7 separate regions of the Homo sapiens genome follow, and all the other regions are linked to region 3. Evidence: promoter capture Hi-C in 16 types of primary human blood cells and fetal thymus (Javierre and others, 2016). All regions are on one chromosome and are shown on one strand. Each heading gives the region's core, a stretch centred on a gene start or on the middle of the fragment in contact. The rest is flanking DNA. Distances are from core to core; before and after follow the strand shown. Region 1 overlaps SYNE1 (spectrin repeat containing nuclear envelope protein 1). Region 2 overlaps SYNE1 (spectrin repeat containing nuclear envelope protein 1). Region 3 holds the start of ZBTB2 (zinc finger and BTB domain containing 2). Region 4 overlaps SYNE1 (spectrin repeat containing nuclear envelope protein 1). Region 5 overlaps SYNE1 (spectrin repeat containing nuclear envelope protein 1). Region 6 overlaps SYNE1 (spectrin repeat containing nuclear envelope protein 1). Region 7 overlaps SYNE1 (spectrin repeat containing nuclear envelope protein 1).

Region 1 (3,378 bases), core at 872-3,371, 930 kb after region 3:
TATTATTTACGTCTTCATACAAATGATGAGAAGACAGAATTCAGAGAGGCAAAGCATTCTGCTCCAAATCACACAGCCCTGCATGGCGGAGCTTGGTTTTCCCACCAGTCTGAGTGTGGAGTCTAGAATCTTTCCACACTTCATTGCATCTCTTCACAGGAAAGAATTTCCCACCAGATCCCTGCAGATAATTATTTCAAAGAAGCTACAGAAAATGAGTTCTACAAGGCTGATTGGTTTGGGTCTTGGTGTAAGGTAGGTTTAGGGAAGATCAAGGATATTTATTTATTCAATTTCATGAAATTTCATGAGAAGCTCCTTTCTGTCCAACTACTGAACAACTTAGGGGTACCTTAGCATTCTTTTTATCTGGTAGCTCCAAAAATTTTACATCACAGCCCTCTAAGTGTTGTGTCAGTCTACCCAGTTAAATCAAATTGCCCTTGGTTACTTTTTAAAGATTATTTTTCCTAAGGTTACCTGATGCAAAATATATTGTTCCCGAAGCTGGCTTGCAGAATTCCATGCAATAGTTCCATGAGCCAAGACTTTAGCTTTTTCAATCCACTTCAAAATTAATTCAAGCATTTCATTGTATTCTTCTAAATGTGATGCTGCCTGAAAAACCAGTAACATTAATGTAACAAATGTAAACTCCTCAGTTTCTTGAGCTATAAATCAGTCTTCTCTCTCTTTGGACACAACAGTCTTAGGGGTTGATCATTATAATACCTATGATATTCAATGGTATCAAAAGATCGTTTCCCTGTTAAAATCTGTCAAAGCTTTCTCAGTGACCTTAGGATAAAGCTCAAGTTCTTAATATGATTGAATTATTCCTCTTTTTCTTTCTTTTTTCTTTTTTCTTTTTTTTTTTTTTCCAAGGTCTTACTGTCACCCCGGCTGGAATGCAGCAGCTGGATCATGGTTAATTACAGCCTCAATCTTACGGGCTCAGCCTCCCACCTCAGCCTCCCACGTAGCTGGGACCACAGGCACGTGCCAACCATGCCCTGTTAAATTTTTGAATCTTTTGTAGGTTTCACCATGTTGCCCAGGCTGGTCTCAAACTCCTAGGCTCAAGTGATCCTTCTGCCTCAGCCTCCCAAAGTACTAGGATTATAGGTATGAGCCACCATGCCAGGCCTTCCTCTATCCCTTCCTTCACCCTCCCCTGGGTAAGGAGGTGGCAAGTGGGGATTCTAGCAGGCAAAGTTTCAAACTATAATTAATGGGTTACCAACTCCTGGTTTTAACTTGTCCCTGATTATATTAATCGATTTCAAAAGTCTAGTCTATATGCAACAATTATTACAGACGTGCAATCTGAATCTATTAAGTCAACGTAAGCTGATATATATGTAGCTTACTTAAAGGTACTTGAATTCACCCCAAACTGATTTCATAAAACACGTTAATGGGTGAATATTCATTCTACAAAATACTTCTCCATTTTACAAAATATTCACTCCAAAGTCCATTTGTAGGACCACCTTTGTCAGTGACTTTATCATATGGCTGGATATAAAGTAAGTGCTGGTTTATACCTAAGTCTTAGGATCACAAGTGTAGCATGAAATAAGCTACACCTAAACTACTCTCTCATTGTCCATTTTATCTTTTTATTTATGTTAATTTATTTTCAAAAGAGAAAAGCAGAACATGGAAGTTTCTGCCTTACACGATTTGGATTTCTGGCCCGGAACACATACCTGATTGAGCTTGGAGAGCCGATTCTCAGCTTGTCTAATGGTCTGCTGGTGAAGTTCAGTCAGTTTTCCTATCTTCTTGGCCAGTGGCTTACCCAGTTGGCCATTCTGTTCCAAGAATTTCTGTACTGCTGCATCTAATTCCATTAACTTTGAATTACAGCCATCTAATTCCTCTCCCAGCACCTTGATGGTCACCAAAATGAAAGAACATTAGAGTACAGAAAATAAATTTCTCCAGGTTTCCCGAGATCAGACTGATTTTTGTCAAAGCCAAATATTATAATGAATAATTCTACTATAATTCTACTATGATCAGGTCATTTTTGTTTCTTCGGTTGGAAAGGCAGGGCAGGATATGTTGTAATGCTGGTGTTTATTTCCTATGAGGCTGAGTGAGAAGGCTAACATTTTCCTTCTGCCCCACCCAAAAAGGATTAGAGTCCCTGAACTCATCAACAGAGGAAGAACACAGATTTAGCTACCAAGGACACAATTCAGTTTGGAATTTATATACTTGTATTCCTAAATCATCACTTAGTCCTTTGACGCTCTTCTTTCGTACACACTCATGCATGTATATTTATTAATACTGTTCAATTATAATGATCAATTATGTAAGAGGATCTGTGTTGCTTCAGTTACAAAATTTCTTTACCACCTGCTGTTACTATTTGGTTTTAAAAAAGGTTCCTAAAAGGTTTTTATCCTATATCCCCAAGTAAAACTGACTCCAAAAACTATTTAATTCATTCAGTAGTACCCTTTAAAATTCTACTTCTTACCTTTTGGTCAGTTTTAGCTTGAACTACATTATCTGTCTTCGCTTTCAGCTTAGTTAGAATAGTTGTGAGGTCTTTAGCTAACTTCTGAATTTGCCGGCTGAGTTCCTGGCTCGTGGCCTTGCTCTGCTCAACTTCTTTTATTTTGTCTTGGATCTAAAAAAATCAGTAAGAACAGCAAAACAAGCCATGGTTAAAAGTGAATAATAGATACTAAAAATCTCAAATGATGTTGACAAGACACATTTTAACTGCTTTGGCATTGAAACACCTGGTCACACCAGCGATGTGCGATTAGTTACAAGCCCTCCTGGCTTTCCCTGACTTCACTATCTTTAAGTATTTACTGCACTCCTTGTGTTCCAGCAAAGATACAAGCAATGTGTGTAGAGAAATTCACTTATTAAATATTTACAGAATACTCATTATAGATGGTTGTGTAGACAGCTGAGTTTGAATCCTATCTTCTCCATTAACTAACGTAATGACCTTGAGCACACAAACTCCTCTAAGCCTTTTTCTTCATAAGATGGAAAATCCTCCCAAACAGTTGGAAGCACACTGATTTGTTTCCAAGCACCTTTTAATAAATGACTCTTAATGATCTGTTAACTCTTTTTGTAACTTTCCGACTACAGCTCTATAGTATGCCAACCAAGCATTAAGTACATCCAATGGAAAGGAAGGTGAAAAAAGACAGTTCGCATTTACAAATTTCCAGTGACTTTGGTTTGATTTGATAACAAACATTCACACTGTTGCTTAGAATAAAATGCCGAAGAAAAGACATTAAAGAGAAGAAACATTTCTTTATGTAGTTAAAGGTCTTTAAAAAAACCTCTTTAGTAGGGAGAAAACACACCATTAAAAGAGAGTTAATGGTGTGT
Region 2 (3,460 bases), core at 483-2,982, 900 kb after region 3:
GTAATGGGGAAGTTACCACTACTCTAAGAAACAAATAATATAAAGGTTTTCTATGCATTTCCTAAAAGTATACACACAAAAAAAACAAAGTGAATGATGAAATATCATGCTTTCAAATTTTTTAAACCTATTATAACATTACATATTTTATTTGTACTGATAAAATTTACTATATCAAGAGATATAGTAAAGATATATCAAGAGATATAGTAAAGATGGTTTTTAACTGTTTCTATGGTTATTTATCTGTATTTCAGTAGAAATTTAATTGGGGGAGTAATTGCTATTATAAAGTTCATTGCTTTTGCAGTTGTACTGTTGAAGGGAATTATGTCAGCTTAAAATACCTGAGTCTTATTGAGAATCATGTATTGGTAAAAAGTATTGAAGAAGGCTCCAGCCGTCTGAGAAACAAATGTAGCAGTGTCATGCGGTAGAATGAATTCAGACTGGGACAGCTGAGATTCTAGCGAAATTCTCCTCTTGTGTAGCTATATAATTGGAGCAAATAACTTATATCTTGCACACTGGTTCACTCATTGGTCCAATCTTGGGTGGGATTGAGGATTATATGAAATAATATTTGAGTGACTATGACAGCTTCTACCCATTTTGTTGTTGTTCCTGAGGTCTCCAGATGAGTCCCCAACATTTATTGATGATATTGGAACATGGAGACTGCTTCCTCTTTATTCCTAACCCTGTCACTGTCTTGAGTGGATTACTCTTCATGTCCTTAATAGCTTTAGATCCATTGATCCTCACTCACTCCCACCCCACTTCAGTCCTCCACACCCTTGTATGCTGTCATCGCTCAGCTGGACTTGTAGTTATGTCTGAAGTTACTTAAACCCCTTTCTTGCCAAGACTCTTGTTTCTCTTGCTCTTTTAACCTTTACTTCATCCACTTGGAAACCCGCAAACATGACTCAATCCAGAGTCATTTATGCATGTGTGTGTGTTACTGACACACACACACACACATACACACACAAACACGCACACACACACATACACATGCAATCCAAGCTGTCAAGGAGATACTGCAACTTCTCAAATTTTCAAAAGTCTATGTATATTCACACTCACCCTTATCTTATGCTTTCCAGTTTCACTGCTTAAACCTGACTCTCCCACAGACTCTGAGAATCCCATAAACTGCTTTTTCAAGGATCTTGGTCTATTAACATCCTCTCTGGCTTTGTTGACTTTCTCTCTTCCATCCAAAAACACCTGCACGCACTGTTTCTTTTATTTGTTTTCTTGAAGGATATCACATTTTCTAAAAAGTCCACAGTTCACAATGTGACGGATCGTCACACGTGAATGCACTTGCACACACAGGCTCCATCCTAATTTCTTTGTTTTCTCCCTTTCATTTCATAATCCAACTTCTGAAAGGGTGATTTTCATGGGACTTTCTCACCCTCGATCCACTTCTAAATTCCAGTTTGGACTTTGATCCTGATGACTGCAGAGCTTGCTCTCACCAGCTTCTTCTCTTTGACAAAAAATGATGAATTTTCATCCCTTCCCTTGCCAGACCTCTAGCATTCAATAGCACTGACAAACCCTTTCCGGAAACACTTTCTAAAAAATCTCTCTGTTCTCCTCCCAGCTTTCTAGTCATTCACTCTTTCTCTTTTATAGTTTGTTTTCCACTCACTCGCCAATATTGGTGAATTGATAAGCTCCAGACTCACATATCCAGATGTTCATGCATATCCTGTAGGCTCTTCAAAGTCAACATTTCCAAAAGGAACCAATTTAGGAAAAAACAATGAAGTATTATCCATCTTGCAATAAATGGAATGTCTTCTCACCTAAGCTATAAACTTGGGATTTATTCCTGATTTCTCCTCCCCCTTAACATCCACTGCTTATGGGAGGATGGAGTGCTAACGATGCATATCCTGGCCACAGCCTTGGTTCAAGTTCTCATTACAGTAACAGCTTCCTAACTCAAAGGTTGCAAACTGGCAGCCTGTGGGCTGCCTCTGACCTGCACATATTTAGTGTGGCTTATACAATGTTTTAAATTGTTTAAAATCTCTCTTCATGAAGATAGAGAGATTTCATTAAAATTCACATTCGTAGCTTGTTTTGCAAACCACAAGGTATGGTAACACTGGGCCCTGTGTCTTTGTTAAAGTAATGCTAACAGAGGAGACATTGCCTCATTTATGTGGAGCAGGAGCTGTCCAGGCCTCTGTAGTCCCTCCTGGCCTCTGTAGTCCCTCCTGGCCTGTTTCTCTCATTTTTATCACCAGGGTGGACCAAGCATGAGACTGTGTAACTTCTGTTTCTAACAGCTCCCCTGGCTCTGAATTTGCACACTTCTATTCTCCTGTCCACATTGATCCAGAAGTATCAGTTCTGTACACAGCTTCTCATTAAATTCCCTCAGTGGTTAAATATTAGCTTCTGGAGGAAGCTGAAATTCCTTCCTGTGGCATTCAGGGCCTCCATGATGTGGTTCCCATATCCCTCTCAGTCTCATTTCCCCCTCTCCTCCTCCTCCAATGTTTCTCCAATTACACTGAAACTATTTGCAGTTGCCTGGATGGGCCATTTTGCTTCCCGCCTCCACAGCTTCCAACAGGTGGTTTCTTCTGCCTGAAAATCTTCATCTCACACGACCCAACTGCACTCCAACTGCCTAACTGTGCTCCTCCCTTAAAACTAAAGGGGGCCATCCTTGACCTCTGCCTGACTCCAGCCAGTTTAGGTGCCTTCTCTAGGCCCTCCCACAACACTGTACTGCCCTCGGCCACACTACCTGCCACCTTCTCTTGTAAGCATTTGCCTGTCCTCACACACACTGTAAGCTCCCTAAGGGCTGTCTGGGTCACTGCTTTTCGTCTTCATCCTGAGCACATTGTGGAGTGTTTGGCAAATAACAGGCAGGCCTATATGTTCATAATAAATCATGCTTGTAAATGCACTTATATAAATTCTATTATTTTATATACATGTAAAGTAATACTATTACTGTCCATAAGGAAAAGCAGGAATGCCTTTAAATGGTGTAAACATTTTACATTAGATACTCTATTATAAATACAGAAGGCTCCCAAAAGAGCTAGAATAAAATAAATTTATTACAAATAATTTTTTTCTGGCAGTCTCACTCTGTGTGTGTGTGTGTGTGTGTGTGTGTGTGTGTGTGTGTGTGCGCGCGCACGTGGCTCATGCCTACAGATATGAATGACAACTCCTGGTTTCTTAAAAGGATTTGAAAATATGTCACCTTTTATAGATGAATAATTTCTATTTATTTGAGGTACATACATAAATTGAATTAAAATAAATCACTCAGTACTATAAATAACTACTAAAGTCAATACTTGATGTAGTGAGGAGTCACTGTTACAAATACGTTTCTCATTGCTTATGTGCCTAAGTTATAAGACTTATGAGTAGATTCCTAAGGAAATAAATTTGGACAACTGTAGCTACT
Region 3 (3,443 bases), core at 786-3,285:
ATTAGCAAGGACAGGGCAGCGCGTTTAAGCAAACCCAGAGACCCCCTGGAGTTCTGATAATTCTGACCTTCTTTATGCTTTATTTTACTAAAACAATACCCTGATAAAATGAATAGAATCAAGGCTCACAAACTCAGTGGACCCATTGTATGATGAAAGAGCTAATGAACAATGCAGCTGGGGGAGGCGGGGAGCGAGAGCCGGGTTATATCCCCAAGGCATAATTAGGAGTTCACGTATTCGGGTGGAAGTTCCTGCAGTAAAAGGCGTAGCTGCAGCTTCTCCCGGCCCAGGCACTCGCCTGCTCTGCTACCCTCGCTTCTTTATTGCCTCTTTTACTACCAGCTAAAAGCGGCAAAACCCAGCTTCCTTTGCAGCTTCTGGCTAAAAAGTTCTCTCTTGCGGCTTTGTTTAAACAAGAAGGGTTTAGAGGTTTCGCTACACCGAGAAAACGACGCCGGCCCCGGGAAGCAGCCTCCCCGCCTTGGAGTCCGGTTGGGGCGTGAGGGCCGCGCGGGTCCCACGCCCCAAGGCTAAGCAGCCGAAAGCACAGCGCGCTCGGGGCCAAACCGGGCTGTATCGCAGGCGCAGATGGCGCGTCGGGCGGAAGCTGGAGGCCGCCGGCTCAACACGCTCCGTACCCGGGACTGGGGCCCGGCCTGCAGCCTCAGCGAGCAGGCGACAAGGGCGGCGCCACAGAGGCCGACGCGTCCCCCGCCCGCCTGAGCGCGCCGCAACAGCCACCTCGTCCCACCCGCCCCGGGGCGGGGCCGGGGGCGCGGCGCCGGGGCCCTCTGGCCCCCTCCGGTCTCGCCGGCCCCGCCCCCTCCCTGTCCCCGTCCCCGAGGGGCTGAGGGGGAGGGAGGGGCGACGCACTCCGGCCGCGTTGCACGCTCGCCGCTTCCCTCAGTCCCGCGTGCGCGCGCGCGCTCGCCCCAAGTCCCGCGGAGTTTAACACAATGCCGACGCCTACGCCGTGCGCAACGCCCCGGCCGGCGCAACAGCCCCGGCGCCGGGGGCGGGGGTGGCCCAGACAGGGAGAGAGGGAGAGGGATGAGCGCGCGCGAGAGCCGGAGACAGCGCGAGACCCGAGGAGGCCGGAAGCGCGCGTGCGCGCCCCCGCCCGCGAGCGGGAGGCGGAGCCGCAGCAGTAGCGGCAGCAGCTGTAGGAGCCGCTGCAGCTGGGAGAAGCGCCAGAGAGGCCGGGCCTGCTCCGGTCGGACCGGATCCCTCCCCTCCCCCTCCCTCCTCCCTCCCCTCCCCCAAACCCACTTCCGCAGCTCGCGGCCTTGCCGCCGAAGCAGCAGCGGCGGCAGCAGCAGGAGGCGGCGGCGAGGCGTCGGAAGGATTACGCACCTGACGGGCCCGCCTCTGAGGGCTCCAGCGCGGGACGCTCACCGGCCGCCGCCGCCCAGGGCGCACTTCGCGGTGGCGGCGGGAAGGGAGGGACCGGCCACGGGGAACCGAACGCGAATCGCCCCCCTCCCCTTCCTCCCTCCCACCCTCCCTCCGATCCGCCGCCCGCCCTCTCGGCTTCCGTCCCCTCCCCCTCCCACAAAACCCCGGATGGAGGCGCCGCCGACTCGCCGCCGCCTGGCTCCGGGGGATGGTTTTGTCAAGCGGCCAGAGCCCCGGCGCCAGGCGCAGCCGCCGCCGCCCCCGCGAGGCGCCCCTGCCCTCGCTTCCCAGAACCGGGTCCCCGAGTGGCCCGGGCCTTCCGCCTGCCTGCACCCGTAGCCCTGGTACGAGGGTCATTCGTCGTCTTTGTTGCCACCGCCTCTGCCGGAACCGTTTGCGAGCTCCGGTGGCCCCCGCCCCCCCACCGCCTTCCCGGACCCTGGGCTGGGGGTGGCACGTGGGCACCGGCCCCGGGAGGCGGAGGCGGTGCGCGCTTACCTGTCGCCGGTGCTGCTGCGGCGGGGGGTGTGGAGGAGGCGCCTCTGGGCAGCCTCGGCCGTGCTGTCCTCCCCGCCGCCGCCGCCTCTGCCTCTCGCTGCTGCTGCTGCTGCTGCCGCCGCGGTCGGTGTCTCCGGCGCGGCGGCGGCGGCGGCGGCGGGGCTTTTCCTGTCCGGTTACGTTAAGGTCACATGACCGAGAGAGCGGAGAGACTAGTGCAAAGAGGCTGCGAGCGGCTCCCGCCGGGGGGGAGAGGCGGCGAGAGAGCAGTGGCGGCAAGAGCCCCCTCCGCCCCCCCCCCAGCCGCTCCCCTCCCCCCGCCCGCCTCCGCCTCCTGCTGCTCTGCCGCCGCCGCCGCCGCCTGCAGCACTCCACTGCCGCTCCCACCCAGGCTCCGCGCTCTGCTCCAGCCAAACTTCTGCAGACCATGTGCAGCCGAGGCGAGGAAACTTCTCTCCACCTATTGGGGCTGGAGGCCTGAGTCACAAGCCCCTTGTTTACATAAAGTGTTTAGGTAGCACAAGTCCTTGAGATGCTCGGGGTAGAGATGGAGAGCCACTGCTCGTATCCTTCTGCCGGCTTCTGCTTGAGATCTCTTGGCCTTTACCCTTGTCCCTTGACTTTTCGTGTTTGTTTTAATCTTTAAGACTTGAAATGGAGTGGCCTTTAGAACCGGGGAGATACTGTAAACCAGCAGTATCTTTGTGTCACCAATGGTAACTGAAAGTCATGCTGAAGTACAGATTCCTGTAGCGTGCACAGAGGCAGAGGTGCTTCCTTTACCTTGCAGATGAGTTGAGCGGCGTAAGATGTTTCTGTTAGGGTTGAATTTCATGGTTATTTCAGCAACGATTTTCGTTTTTGAAGTTTTGGCCCCCCCAAAAATGAAAGTCTGCAACGCATGTTTGTTAAGAGAACAGTTTATTCTCCTGTTAGGTTTTGGTCTTTGAGGTATGGATTCCAGAGTTGGCTATTCTGTTAGATTTAGAGGTGTGGAAAATCTTTTAACGGGGAGATCCTGAAACACGGAAACATGGCAGGGAAGTTAGAATTTCCTGATGGTCATTTTTAACATTTTAAAGTTTACTTTTTGGTTGTTGCCATTTTTCTAGAATCCGTGTCTTTTTTGGGGAAATACAGTCCTTTGAGGACTAGAATTTAATGATTTCTTTACACATCTAGGATTTTTTGAGATTTAGAAAGGATATGGCTTTATTCCTAAGGAAGTGGAGGCAGCAGTTTCTAGGATACTCTGGTTTCAAGGCATGCTAACTTGGTTGTGATGTCTAACCCATTTTGGTTTACACAGTCTGACCACTAGCACAATGCCTGGCACATAGTTTACAAATCATTTAAGGCAAGCTTACCATCTTAAGACAATTTAATACATAGAAGTGTCCCTCCTAAAAATCTGAGTTTGATTTAGAAATCCAGTTATACCTGCAGGTACTGATGACTAATTCCTTCTTTGAAGACAAAATAAGCAGCTGTGTAGCTTCAGTGGCTCTCAAATGGATAATAGATTCAGTGTATACTCGCTTTGAACT
Region 4 (3,086 bases), core at 72-2,571, 890 kb after region 3:
CTTTCTGGAATAGTTATTGTTTAATTTTCTGTTCACATATTTATTGCGCCAACACCAAACTATTTTAATTATTGTAATATTGTATTTTAATATGTGATTAGACTGGCCGGGCATGGTAGCTCACGCCTATAATCTCAGCACTTTGGGAGGCTGAGGTGGGTGGATTGCCTGTGCTCAGGAGTTGAAGACCAGCCTGGGCAACATTGAGAGACCTCCATCTCTACAAAAAATTAAAAAAATTAGCTAGGCAGGTGGTGCGCGCCTATAGTCCCAGCTACTCAGGAGGCTGAGGTGGGAGCATTACTTGAGACTGGGAGGCAGAGGTTGCAATGAGCTGAGATTGCGTCCCTGCACTCCAGCCTGGGTGACAGAGCAAGACCCTGTCTCAAAAAAAAAAAAACAAAAAAAAATCCACACACATATATGATAAGACTAATAATCCCTCAAAACTCTTCATTTTCAAAATTTTATATGGGATATTACATTATTCCTCTAACTTGTTTTTTGTCTATGTAAAAACTATAAATTCTCGACTTCTTTTTTTTTTTTTTTTTTTTTTGAGACAGGATTTCACTCTGTTGCCCAAGCTAGAGCACAGTGGCACAATCTCGGCTCACTGCAACCTCTGCCTCCCAGGTTCAAGCAGTTCTCATGCCTCAGCCTCCCAAGCAGCTGGGATTACAGGCATGCCCCACCACACCCGGCTAATTTTTGTATTTTTAGTAGAGATGGGGTTTCACCATGTTGGCCAGGCTGGTCTCAAACTCCCGACCTCAGGTGATCCACCTGCCTTGGCCTCCCAAATTGCTGGGGATACAGGCGTGAGCCACTGTGCTCGGCTGACTTCATTTTTTAATTTTTATTTTTTGTTGGATTCTTTTATGCTTTTCAATGACCTAACTTCATATTTTTAATAAGCCAGTCATCTTCCTAAATTTCTCCATTGCTTCTAAATAGTTTTTAGTTGATTAAGTTTGGTTTTCCATATCATATAATCATATCATCAGCAAAAAGCCGAAAAAAAAAATACATAGGTTAGTCCTAACAATCATCCTCACACTGAGAAAACAGAAGCAATCACAGTGAACTTCCATGAAGTTTCCGTTAACAATATTTATGTCCTACTTCCTACCAGTATTTGTATTCCAACATAGATGCTTTCCCTCCCTCCTCATTTTACTTGGAGAACAGATTGGCCTGGTCTCAACCATTATTGCAGGAGAAAGGTGTAAATGGTAAAGGAAGGCACAGTTTGGATTAGGCCACAAGAAGGAGCAGATGATACCATCAGATGCTTATAGGGTTGGGGCAGCTAATGGGCTTCTAAACTATTTGGTCCCTGGCTTACTTAGCAAGAAGGGTAGGGAAGACCAAACTCTGCACTCTTTTTTTTTTTTTTTTTTTTTTTTGAGACGGCGTCTCCCTCTGTCTCCCAGGCTGGAGTGCAGTGGTGCGATCTCAGCTCACTGTAACCTCTGCTTCCCAGGTTCAGGTTCAGGAGATTCTCCTGCCTCAGCTTCCCAAGTAGCTGGGACTACAGGCGCCCACCACTATGCCCGGCTAATTTTTGGTATTTTTATTAGAAACGGGGTTTCACCGTGTTAGCCAGGATGGTCTCCATCTCCTGACTTCATGATCTGCCAGCCTTGGCTTCCCAAAGTGCTGGGATTACAGGTGTGAGCCACCGCACCTGGCCTGTGTACTTTTTATCCTATCCGTTTCCTCCCCAACAAGAAGATTGTTCTTGCAATCACACTCCTTTTTCTTTTTCTTTTTTTTTTTTTTTTTTTTTTTTTTGTTATGAGACAGAGTCTTGCTCTGTCGCCCAGACTGGAGTGCAGTGATATAATCTCGGCTCACTGAAATCTCCACCTCCCAGGTTCAAGCAATTCTCCTGCCTCAGCCTCCCGAGTAACTGAGATTACAGGTGTCCACCACAAGGCCCAGCTAATTTTTTTTTTTTTTTGTATTTTTAGCAGAGATGGGGTTTCACCATGTTAGCCAGTCTGGTCTCGAACTCCTGACCTCAAGTGATCTGCTTGTCTCGGCCTCCCAAAGTGCTGGGATTACAGGCGTGAGCCACGGCGCCCTGCCCACATTCCTTTTTCACCAACTTTTCCTCTATTGAGTTATTTCCATCAACGTGTAAACTTATTATTTTTCTGATCTTAAAATGAAATACTCAAATTGTGATGAATGTAAAAGAAAAAAAGAGATAAAATTTTCTTTGACCCACTTCTCCTTATAGCTTATCTCATTCCTCTATATACCACTTTACAGCAACACTCCTGGAGTAGCCTTTACTTTCCCTCTCCAGTTCCTCTCCTCTCATTGTTACTTTCATGTCAGAGTGCTTTTTGCCTCCACCACTCCGCTGAACAGCTGTTGTTAGTAGTCCTAACAAAATCTATTTGCAAATGTTTGCCAAAGTCCAAGAGTGTAAACTTAAAGCTGCATGCTAAAATGTCAGCGTAAAGCAGGTACACACACAAGTACGCGTCACCGCCAACCTGTTCCTTTACCTGGCAAACCTTAGAAGGAGCACGTGAACAGTGTGCCAACTTTCAGCTGTGGGCCAGCGGCTGGAACCCTCACCTGCATGTTGAGCTGCTTATCATGCAGGGCTCTCTGCAGCTCCAGCAGGCTCCCCTTGAGCCTTCTCAGCTTTCCAGCCAGCTGCTCGGCCTCGTCCTTGGTGTGAGCTTTGCCCTCCAGCAGCAGGTTCTCATTGTGGACTGACAGTTCTGATAAAGCCACCACCTTCTGCTCTATTTCCACCAGCATATTCTGCAGCAACAGAAATAAGAATGAAACTCACACATCTCCCCAGCCTCTGCAAAGACTGTTTCCCACAGTGAAATACAGCCCTTTGGAGTCTTTTACGAAACGGACAGGCTTTCATGATTTTTTGTAGTTTTCCCACGGCCTTGACGAGTAAGTAGTCTGTAGGCTTTTTTTTTATATTTTTTAATTTATTTTTATTTTTTTAGACAGAATCTCACTCTGTCGCCCAGGCTGGAGTTTAGTGGAGCGATCTTGACTCACTGCAAGCTCCGCCTCCCAGGTTCACGCCATTCTCCTGCCTC
Region 5 (3,364 bases), core at 331-2,830, 860 kb after region 3:
TGGGCAACAAAGTGAGACCCTATCTCCATATTAAAATATATATTTTTTATTATATATATATATATATATATATACACACACACACACACACACACACACACACATATATTTTTAAAAATAAATAAAAAGAAAAATGCACACTCACAGTTTTGCAAACTATTTTGAGAGGTGTTCTTTAACACACACACACACACACACACACACACACACACATATTATATGTCAGATTATTCTCTATCGTCTATCCATAGATTCCCGGGAAGTTCGCTGAAATTAAATCAGAGAATTCTATTAAAACACATACTTCTCACAATTACTTAGCTTATGAAACAGGAGATATTCTAACATCCCTCCCATTTCTTCTATCTGCATTTTCATGCCATCATGCCAGTTTGGGTTCTCATTCTTTCTCTCCAGTACAGCTACATGAAGCCTCATGATGGATCTCCTGTTTCCTGACCCTGGTGCTGTCATGTAAACTAACCAGAAGCAAGATCTAGAACTGCCATTCATTTTTACCTGCAAACATCCCCTACAACTTTCCATGGCCAGGGATCTCCCAGCTGAGTCTAAACACCCAAGAGTGTGCAAGATGATTTACCAGGATGAAACACCACATCTTTCATTTATATTCAACCACATTAATTTTCAATTTTGGTTGTAGCATGTACACAAACAAAAATTGAAAATAAATTTGGCTGAATTTAATTGTGATTTATAACATAAATTGCTTATAATTTATAAATAAATAAAAATACATACACTTATGCTGCATATTTATTTCCTTTTTTTTTTAGCTAATGAGGCATGCAACAAATAAAGTGTACAGGTAACTAGTTTATAGAATAAAGTCCAAAGTCACACATTCAACAGGCCCTACAAACTGCCTTAAATTTACATATCCAATCTTGTTTGTCCTCAGTCACTTTCATTTATCTTAAATTCAGCTAAAATAGAATTACCTGTGTTTTTCCCTAAGTGCTCAGAATTCTCTAACAATTTGTGCCTTTTTTCTTGCTGTCCTCTTTACCGTGATATCTTTCTTTCCTGTTGTTGTGTGTCCAAACTCTTAGGTTCAGTTCAAATTTCCCTCTACAAAGCTTCCCTAATCCTACCCCTGCTGGAGGCCAGAAGGGTCTGAGTACCCATAATGCTTTGTCAGTACCACTCCCAGGACAGTTTGACTTTCTGCCCTATGTCATTGAGGTTCATATCTAATCTCATCATTGGGCAGAAAACTCCTTCAGGTCAGCATCTGCCATGGATACCTTTTCCCAGCTCACATTTCCTAGTTCTGTGCAGATGTAAGTAACAGAGTCAATGTCACCTGGTATGTTATTCAAACCCAGTACTCAAAAACAAAAATACTACAAACAAAAGTGCCACTGTGAGCCATTAATCTTTCATAGAATATTCAAAATTTCATAGTAAGTCATATCTCCTCTATGCATTTTCTCTTCTAGGAAAAGGCAGCTATAAATACCTCTATTTGTTCTGCTACGGGCTGTTCAAACACATTTGCCAGTTTTTGCAGAATGATGTATTTGTTGTCAGCCAGTGATGTAAACAGCACTTTCAGATCATTCTAAGGAGGAAAGCAACGGGAAAACTCAAAATGTGTAACAGGGAATTCAAAATACTTGTAAATATAACACAGATTCTAAGAAATAACATAGAGGCACAGAAATTTAATTTCCAGGAGAAACAATACTGTGCTATGGGAAGGTAAAAGGAACTGGTAACAATTTACTTATGTGCTAAAACTGACTCCTGAAGAATCTGTTACCCAAAGTATTTTCTACATAACACAAATGAAGTTGAACCATACATGTAAAAAGCAACGCTTGTCACCCTAATCTCATTACATCCGAAATAAATGAGCACAGTCAAACATTGCACAGAAATATTATATTAGTGGCTCTTATCTAGGGAAATAACCTATAGGTGTTATCCTGATTTGGGAAATAATATGATACTTAAGAATCATATGATTTCCATTTTGCTCTCTCCTCTTCTTCCCTCCCTCCATCAGTTTCTTCTTCTATTTTTGGAAAATTTGCACAAGCTTTAAAAAAGCCATCCAGAAGTTTAGAAAATAAATATTATCCATGATGGCCAAAAACATGTGAAGAGACAACACAAAAAGATCTTGTTAGGTATTTTGTTCAAAAATATTACTCATTTAAATGTCCAAATATATTTATATTGAGTTAGATTTGTATAAAAAGGAGACAACTATCAGAACTTTGGTACTTAATTCCACAGGGAATAATAAATTAGAAGAATATTTAAATTATAAAAAATTTTGGCCAGGTGCAGTGGTTCATCTCTGTAATACCAGAATTTTGGGTGCCTGAGGCAGATCACTTGAGGCCAGGAGTTCAAGACCAGCCGGGGCAACACAGTGCACCCGGTCTCTACAAAAAGTTTAAAAAAAAAATAAGTGGACACAGTGGCATGCCTGTAGTCCTATCTACTTGGGAGGCTGAAGTGGAAGGATCCCTTGAGTTCAGGAGTTTGAGGTTGAAGTGAGCTATGATCACGCCACTACATGCCAGCCTGGGTGACTTTATCTCAAAAAAAAAAAATTACCAAAAAAATGTATTTTTTTCTCTAAAATATCAACAAATAAGTTCTATTTCATAATAGTCAGCAAAAATATATTTGTCAGAGGTTAAAGCTCAACTCAGGACCTCTTTACCAGGGCCTGATCACGCACATCACCAACATGCAAACATTCTGACTGTCTAATGAGTGGAAGGATAATCGTACCAAGGAAGAAAAACATCTATAAGAACATGTGAAGGCTTTATAATGTAAATTCAGGTCTAAAAAGCAAAATAATGGGTGCATTATGCAGTAAAAATTATAAAATTGAAAATATAGCGCTGAACATGAGAACTAGAATAGTTGCCACTAACCAAAACTCAAAGCAATCTGCAAGTCTAGTGGCTAACTAAATAGGAAATTATAATAACAGCCCTGGAAAAATCCTAGAAACAATAGTTTTACATATGAGTTACTAGGTCTGTATCATTCAACTGTGTTCAGAGTAAGGTCACGTGGGCCATTAAAACCATCACACATTTATCTGTTTTTAAACCTAGTAAAAGATGTCCTGCATTCACTTGAACAGAAGCCTACATTATCTACATATGTGTGTATAGTGACATTCGTCCAGTTAATCTAAATGAGTAGCTAAGTATATATAACATAACATGGGTTAGAAATGAAGAGTGCATAGATAGATTTCCTGTATGCCAGTTTTATGCTTTGTTTTGTTTTGTTTTGAGACAGAGTCTTGCTCTGTCACCCAGGCTGGAGTGCGGTGGCGCGATCTCGGCTCACTGGAACCTCAGCCTCC
Region 6 (3,391 bases), core at 308-2,807, 940 kb after region 3:
TCAAAATTTATTCTTAAACTAAGGGTGCTTTTATTCTCAAGACATCAGGACATTAGGACATTTCCTAGGTCTGCTAAGTCCTGGATCTGTCAAGTTCTGGATCTGTTCAGTAAACATTATTAACCTGTTCCCTTAACTAAATATCCTGTGACTAAGAATGCCTAACTTTCTGGGAATGCAGCCCAGCAGGTCTCAGCCTCATTTTACCCAGCCCCTATTCAAGATGGAGTCGCTCTGGTTTGAACGCCTCTGACGGAAACCTTCCAAATGTCAGAGACAAGGCAAAGTAGCTTGGGTCACCAGGTGGGCAGTGGTGTTATGTACAGAGTTGGGGAAGGCTGGAGTACATTCGCAAAGTGGAAAGGCAATGGTTTAGATTCATCTACTCCCTGCATACACAGCAAAAAGAAACCTCTAAGATACCATCTCTGCCAGCCCAATATGTGGCCAGAGGATCATTTCTTTGGATAGTGTTTCCTCCAAGGGGTTGGTTCATGGACTTCCATACTTCCCCACTGCTCACTCCCATTGCCATTTACTCCCACTACCCAAAAAACACCTCTTAAATCCCCTGACTGATATATGAAATTTTGTCCTTAAAGCTAGGTTCAATCACAATTAAAATGTTAACAAGAGTATCATCTTGAATGTTTTTATTATGTGTATATCTAAAACAAATACAGCAAAATATTGGCATTGTTTATTATCTCTGAATGGTAGTATCATAAGTGATTGTGATTTAAATTTGCTTATTAAGACATTTCTGTATTTTCTAAGCCTTTTATAATAAACAAAACTTTTCTTATAAAATACATTTTAAAAAATTAAATTTCTAGGATGGTTCACAAATTTTTTTAAAAAAGAGTTCATGCTTCTGAGAAAAAATAAATCTTATTATCCCGATCCCTATTCTCTTTTTTCTCTGTACTTGCAAACAGCACTCCAGTAGACAATATATTATTATTGACTCATAATCACAGAGAAAAAACATCTTTAAGTTTATTTAAAATCTGACCCAACTTCCAATTAAGTTAATACACTTATAATTTTCTTTTTTCCCTTTTTTTTGAGACAGAGTCTCACTCTGTGGCCCAGGCTGGAGTGCAGTGGCATGATCATGGCTCACTGCAACCTCCGCCTCCCAAGTTCAAATGATTCTCGTGCCTCAGCCTCCCAAGTAGCTGAGATTATAGGCATGTGCCACGCAAGGCTAATTTTTGTATTTTTAATAGAGATGTGGTCTCACCATGTTGGCCAGCCTGGTCTCAAACTCCTGGCCTCAAGTGATCTGCCCACCTCAGCTTCCCAAAGTGCTGGGATTACAGGCATGAGCCACCACACCCGGCCACAATTTCCTATATATTTTAAATTATTTAAATTATATATAAATATGTAATACAAACTGCATTTATATTATACTTTAAATTAATTACATATAGCTCAAATATATAACTAATGAATTGATAAGCTTACAGTCCTACAGTTTTAGCATAATATGGTGATGAAAATCTAAAAAAAGAATAATGTTCCATGTTTGCTTAGTCACAGAGTTTTCTGACTAAGCAGTCTACTCTGTAGACTAAATCACACCTGCTTTTCTCAGGAATAATGTAGAGTATGAATGTCTTCTGATGAAAGTGGCCATCTGAAGCTTCAGTAATATATTTGAATGTCTACTTTATAATCTGTTTTCCCTGGCACCAAATGATGTTTGTTCAGATTTGCTATTCCTTAAAGCAGCGGTCCCCAAACTTTTTGGCACCTGGGATGGGTTTTGTGGAAAACAATTTTTCCGTGAATGGGGCTGGAGGGGGATGGTTTCAGGATGAAGCTGTTCCACCTCAAATCATCAGATATTAGTTAGATTATCATAAGGAGCATGCAACCTAGATCCCTTGCATGCGCAGTTCACAGTAGGGTTTGCACTCCTATGAGAATCTGATGTGGCCTCTGATCTGACAGGAGGTGGAGTTCAGGCATTAATGCTTGCTCGCCTCCCACTGTGCGGCCAGGTTCCTAACAGGACATGGACTTGTGCTTGTCCATAACCTGGGGCTTGGGGACCTCTGCCTTAAAGAGTTGTATTAATGTCTAAGGATTGACAGACACTCAGGCATATTGAAGTGAATACACTGAACACATTTCAGGTTTTCTACTCTGTTGGCCTCTTTTATCTCCCTTGGGGGCAAATTAATTCCCACCTTAACTTGTGAAACCATGTTCTGTGCAATGTTCAGCTCCAGCTCAGAGTGCCTCCTCTTCATGTTCTGCAGTTGCTGATCAGCATCTTGCAGGTAAATCCAGAGCTCAGACTTCAGGTGCTTGATCTCTTCCCAGCCCTGAGTTAAGTTCTGGGCCTGGACAAGCTTTTGTTCAATCTTGAGAAAACACAGAGATAAAAGTTAGCAACCATACATGGAAACATTTATGGTTAATGAATCAGAGATGGAACTTTCCAGCTGGCCTGTGCACTCATTTGACACACACATACACACGCAAACTCACACACACAAATACATAAATTTAAAAAGTACTTCTTTATTTGCTTCAGGAAAAGCAGATTTTTTTTAAAAAAATGTAGGGTTCCTAAAGACTTTAAATGTCTACAAGTTATGCTATATGGTTTTAATCAGTGTTGTGAAACTCTAATAATTTTTTTTTTTTTTTGAGACAGAGTTTCGCTCTTGTTGCCCAGGCTGGAGTGCAATGGCACGATCTCGGCTCACAGCAATCTCTGCCTCCCGGGTTCAAGTGATTCTCCTGCCTCAGCCTCCTGAGTAGCTGGGATTACAGGCTTGCGCCGTCACACCCAACTAATTTTGTATTTTTAGTAGAGACAGGGTTTCTCTACGTTGGTCAGGCTGGTCTCGAACTCCCAACCTCAGATAATACGCCCGCCTTGGCCTCCCAAAGTGCTGGGATTACAGGAGTGAGCCACTGCGCCCAGCGAAACTCTAATAAGTTTTATCAATGTATTAGGTCTAAAGCTGCTCTGATGGTTTTTCCCATTGGGCATTTCAGTAGATTCATCTGTATGACTCATGAATTTGGTGTTAAGGTTAACTAGAAAAGACTTCTGTTATTCTCTGTTGCACATTTGTTCATCTGTCTTACAACATGCTGAATTATTAATGTTTTGGATATGTCTTTGATCTGCTTCACTGGTTTTTGAAGCTGTGTAATTTGTTTCAATAAATCATTTCTGTAAAAATAAATGGGTTACATTGGCTGGGAATGGTGGCTCGTGTCTGTAATCCTAGCACTTTGGGAGGCCAAGTCAGGTGGATTGCCTGAGCTCAGGAATTCGAGACCCACCTGGGCAACACAGTGAAACCCTTTCTCTACTAAAATACCAAAAAGTAGCCAGGCATGGTGGTGTGTGCCTGTAGTC
Region 7 (3,567 bases), core at 845-3,344, 840 kb after region 3:
GAGGAGAGAAGAACAAATTAAACATCTTAAGGACATTCATAGGCCAATCCTGAACATGGCACCCATCAACAGCTTCTGCGACAGGTTATGGTCTTAAAAAAATATTCAAAAGATTTAAGAGATCTAACAAGCAAATGTAGCATATGCATATTGTTTGCATCCTTATTTTGAATAAGTTAACATATAAAAGAAATTTTAAAGACAACCGAGGAAATAGGATTATGCGTTGAACATAAAATAATATTAGAAATTATTAAACTTTTGGTGGTGATAATAATATGGATGCATTAAGAAAATGTCTATTTTTCAAAGATATATATTGTATGTAAGAATAAAGTGACATGATGTCTGGTATTTACTATGATATCTATTTTAGAAAAAGAAATAATTTAGGCAATTTTTTTTTTCTTGGAAACAGGGTCTCACTCTGTCACCCAGGCTGAAGTGCCATGGTGTAAACATGGCTTACTGCAGCCTCGATCTCCTGAATTCAAGCAATCCTCCCACCTCAGCCTCCTGAGTAGCTGGGACTACAGGGACAAGCACCACCACGTCTGGCTGATTTTTGTAGCTTTTTGTAGAGAGAGGGTTTCACCATGTTGCCCAGGCTGCAAATCTTGACAATTATTAAATCTGATGCTCAGTATACAGGGTTCATAGCATTTCTCTCTACTTACGAGTATGTTTGAAAATTTTCATAATTTCAAATTTTTAAAAACGAGTGAAAAAAACCTAATGTATTTTAAAAAAAACCCTATAAACTCACAAAATCAGCAAAATTTGTTACTAAATGCAACTTTTAAATATTTAAAAAAATATTTAACTTGCAACTCTCAAGGCCTATAAACATATTAGCATACGCTATGAAATTGTGAGATGGTGCATGTTAGCCACCTGGACAAGTTACCTGACAGTCTTTCAGTGCATTTTGAACAGAAGCCTGATCTCCAATTCGATGCTGTTGTTTTAGTCTCTTTTCCTGGGTTTCAAACCATGTTTTCAGACATTGTACATTATTTTCATATTCTGACCAAGATTCCAATAAGCCTTCCAACAGCTGGATCTGAACAAACACAATAAAATGAAATTTGCAACTTTATTTTAATAAAATCAAATCATTAGCAGACTAATTATTCTAGCCAGTATTTTCTCCAAATTAAGAATTCTTAAAATACAGTTCATCGTATATATGATTTAAAACAGGGGTGTCTAATCTTTTGGCTTCCCTGGGCCACACTGGAAGAAGAAGAATTGTCTTGAGCCACACATAAAATAAACGAACACTAACAATAGCCGACGATCTAAAAAAAAAAAAAATTGCAAAAGAATCTCATAATGTTTTAAGAAAGTTTACGGATTTGTGTTGGGCTGCATTCAAGGCCGTCCTGGGCCGCATGCAGCCCGCGGGCTGGGCAAGCTTGATTTAATAAATGAATTTCATAAAGTATGAATCAATGACTATTACTGGGAAGCAAGAAAGGACTAAAGTCAACTTGAAGCAAAGGCAAAATAAATCAAGAGGCATCTTTAGAAAACTGAAACACCATAAAATATACAAAGAGCAGAGAATGTATAAGAGAAAATCATCAACAGGTTAAAGGAAGTTTAGGGTGATTAACCTTCAGCGGTATTATTGGAAGCGTTCTTTGCCCAGTATAGCCACGCTACTTGTGAACCCAGTCTTCCTTACAGAGTGTGCCTGTTCTTGGGGTTTTCATGTAAATCTGGACAGTGGGAAGCCACTGGCTTACCTTCTCAGTTACTAGACCTTGCAGAATTTGCCAACTTTTATTCATTGCTCCAAGTTGCTCAGCAAAATCAGTCTTATCACTACGCTTACTTTCCACATCCTGACTGCTGATTTGTAGCACGGACTGGTTCACAAAATCCACTGTCAGCTGTTTACAGTTAATGTCTATCTTAAAACCCTAAAAAAAAAGAGGAGAAAATAAGATTATACAATAAATGTCTCATTAGTTTTCCAGGAGTTGGAAAGCCTTAAGTAACCTTAATATTAATATTATCACTTCCATAACTCAGCTGAAATGGCACAATTTGTCTGTGTTCACACAACCCATTATTTTTAGAAGCCGAATATATATTTGTATACGTTTATATGAACATAAACACAGATATACGTGTGTATGTGTGTGTGTGTGTGTGTATATATATATTTAGGTAGAAGATTTAGAACTAGATAAATTATATAACCTCACTATAAAATATTTATAAATTTATTTTTATAATTTCTGTAATTCTTTAATAACACAAAATTATTCAAAATCATTCCTAGTACTGGATATTTCTTCTTATTTCTATAACTGATAATGCATTTTTCTTGCTATTGAATTCCTATCTGGTCACTGTGTAGGAAACATACATTCCAAGACTTGATTACCATAATTTGAGTTTTTTAGTTCTTTCAAATAAAATGGTCTGAAAATATGAAAAGTTAAAAACAAAAAATTTTAATTACCTTATATTTCTGAAGGTATTCATGAATTGCCTTGTAACCTATGGAATTTTTAATATTATCTTCATCCTTCTGAATAACATTTTCCATTAGAGAAATCCAACTCATGACTTCAGAAATGGCATGGCGGGAAGGCAGTTTATCCATCTGGAGCTGTCCAAGTCAGGGAGAGAACCAGTCCCAAGTGTTAAAATGGAAACCCCAACTTCTGCTAACTTAAAAACCCTACAATAATTCTTAAAAATGTACCAAGAGAGATAACACTCCTTAATGACATTTGGAGATCTTACCCTTTCTGAAAGCTTGAAGTTAAACATCAGGCAAATGTTGAGGAATAATAGTCATTTTATGTTCACTTGATATCCAATACTGTAAACACTGTATAAACATTAACTAATTAATCAAAGCACCAGAAAGAAGAGAATATTATTCTTATTTTATAACTAGTTTTATGAGTCTAAAAAAACTTAACCAGAAAACATTCAACAGATGTATTTTATTAATTATCTTGTAAAATCTCTGCATATTATGACTCAGGAATGTTAAAAGAAGAAAGAAAAATACCACACTACAAGCTATCATTTTCTAGAGTTTTTGGCACTCTAATCTTTATTCCTAAGAACATAGCCAATTTCCTCAGCCCTTAGCTGATATACACTACTTACAATTCGAAATCTTACTTAACATATCACACATTTATGCATATGTGTATTACGATGATTTGGAGGAACAAAAGCAATCATTTAAAATCTTTGTATATCAACTTCTGTGTGGTGCTGAAAGATATAGCAATGAACGTGGGTTGGTTCCTGCCCTCTGGGGGCGCACAGCTGTTGCTTAGGAGAGATTAGGCATGTACACAAAACACAGCTATCCTGCCTGAAACACAGTGATGAGTGTCAAAGAGAGATAAAGATAAAATGTTCTGGGATTTCAGGGGAGGTGGGTGTATTTTCAGATAAGAGGATTATTTACATCTACTGAATGCCAGTTGCTCTCCTATACATAAGATATTTTTAACATATATTACGTTCTAAATCTTCATAACCACTCACTTTATGAGAAAAGTGTATGTAACTGTCCACATTTTATCT

The links. Contacts are between HindIII fragments. The CHiCAGO score rates a contact against its expected background, and 5 or more counts as called.
Region 1: a fragment that was not itself captured here is called in contact with the fragment with the promoter of ZBTB2 in region 3 in 4 of 17 cell types (naive CD4 T cells, total CD4 T cells, activated CD4 T cells and 1 more); the score reaches 6.5 in naive CD4 T cells.
Region 2: a contact is called between a fragment that was not itself captured here and the fragment with the promoter of ZBTB2 in region 3, in 11 of 17 cell types (non-activated CD4 T cells, naive CD8 T cells, total CD4 T cells and 8 more). The highest score is 21.1, in non-activated CD4 T cells.
Region 4: a contact is called between a fragment that was not itself captured here and the fragment with the promoter of ZBTB2 in region 3, in 7 of 17 cell types (naive CD4 T cells, fetal thymus, total CD4 T cells and 4 more). The highest score is 14.1, in naive CD4 T cells.
Region 5: a fragment that was not itself captured here is called in contact with the fragment with the promoter of ZBTB2 in region 3 in 6 of 17 cell types (total CD4 T cells, naive CD4 T cells, naive CD8 T cells and 3 more); the score reaches 10.5 in total CD4 T cells.
Region 6: a contact is called between a fragment that was not itself captured here and the fragment with the promoter of ZBTB2 in region 3, in 4 of 17 cell types (non-activated CD4 T cells, total CD4 T cells, naive CD8 T cells and 1 more). The highest score is 7.4, in non-activated CD4 T cells.
Region 7: a contact is called between a fragment that was not itself captured here and the fragment with the promoter of ZBTB2 in region 3, in 6 of 17 cell types (total CD4 T cells, non-activated CD4 T cells, naive CD4 T cells and 3 more). The highest score is 13.8, in total CD4 T cells.

The regions. Positions count from the first base shown.
Region 1 is chr6:152,316,369-152,319,746 of GRCh38, forward strand. SYNE1 (spectrin repeat containing nuclear envelope protein 1) reads right to left here. Exons shown (of 146, transcript NM_182961.4): 85 at 2,495-2,647; 86 at 1,713-1,895; 87 at 481-618. Among named protein-coding and RNA genes, the nearest start is that of SYNE1-AS1, 62 kb to the right of the region's middle. The HindIII fragment of the contact is 2,676 bases long and covers 784-3,378 here.
Region 2 is chr6:152,294,649-152,298,108 of GRCh38, forward strand. The region is part of intron 93 of SYNE1 (spectrin repeat containing nuclear envelope protein 1); the gene reads right to left. Among named protein-coding and RNA genes, the nearest start is that of SYNE1-AS1, 84 kb to the right of the region's middle. The HindIII fragment of the contact is 5,328 bases long and covers 1-3,460 here.
Region 3 is chr6:151,389,524-151,392,966 of GRCh38, forward strand. It overlaps ZBTB2 (zinc finger and BTB domain containing 2), which reads right to left and starts at 2,036. Exons shown (of 3, transcript NM_020861.3): 1 at 1,897-2,036. LOC124901232 (translation initiation factor IF-2-like) reads left to right here. Exons shown (of 3, transcript XM_047419613.1): 2 at 431-949; 3 at 1,182-3,443. The coding sequence ends at 2,081. RefSeq lists silencers at 598-1,527, 1,608-1,997, 2,008-2,067 and an enhancer at 2,049-2,921. The HindIII fragment of the contact is 3,903 bases long and covers 1-3,256 here.
Region 4 is chr6:152,275,494-152,278,579 of GRCh38, forward strand. SYNE1 (spectrin repeat containing nuclear envelope protein 1) reads right to left here. Exons shown (of 146, transcript NM_182961.4): 98 at 2,596-2,787. Among named protein-coding and RNA genes, the nearest start is that of SYNE1-AS1, 100 kb to the right of the region's middle. The HindIII fragment of the contact is 7,041 bases long and covers 1-3,086 here.
Region 5 is chr6:152,247,678-152,251,041 of GRCh38, forward strand. It overlaps SYNE1 (spectrin repeat containing nuclear envelope protein 1), which reads right to left. Exons shown (of 146, transcript NM_182961.4): 105 at 1,484-1,585. Among named protein-coding and RNA genes, the nearest start is that of SYNE1-AS1, 130 kb to the right of the region's middle. The HindIII fragment of the contact is 965 bases long and covers 1,099-2,063 here.
Region 6 is chr6:152,334,640-152,338,030 of GRCh38, forward strand. It overlaps SYNE1 (spectrin repeat containing nuclear envelope protein 1), which reads right to left. Exons shown (of 146, transcript NM_182961.4): 76 at 2,202-2,378. Among named protein-coding and RNA genes, the nearest start is that of SYNE1-AS1, 44 kb to the right of the region's middle. The HindIII fragment of the contact is 183 bases long and covers 1,467-1,649 here.
Region 7 is chr6:152,229,640-152,233,206 of GRCh38, forward strand. SYNE1 (spectrin repeat containing nuclear envelope protein 1) reads right to left here. Exons shown (of 146, transcript NM_182961.4): 113 at 2,477-2,626; 114 at 1,752-1,928; 115 at 908-1,063. Among named protein-coding and RNA genes, the nearest start is that of SYNE1-AS1, 150 kb to the right of the region's middle. The HindIII fragment of the contact is 1,358 bases long and covers 1,416-2,773 here.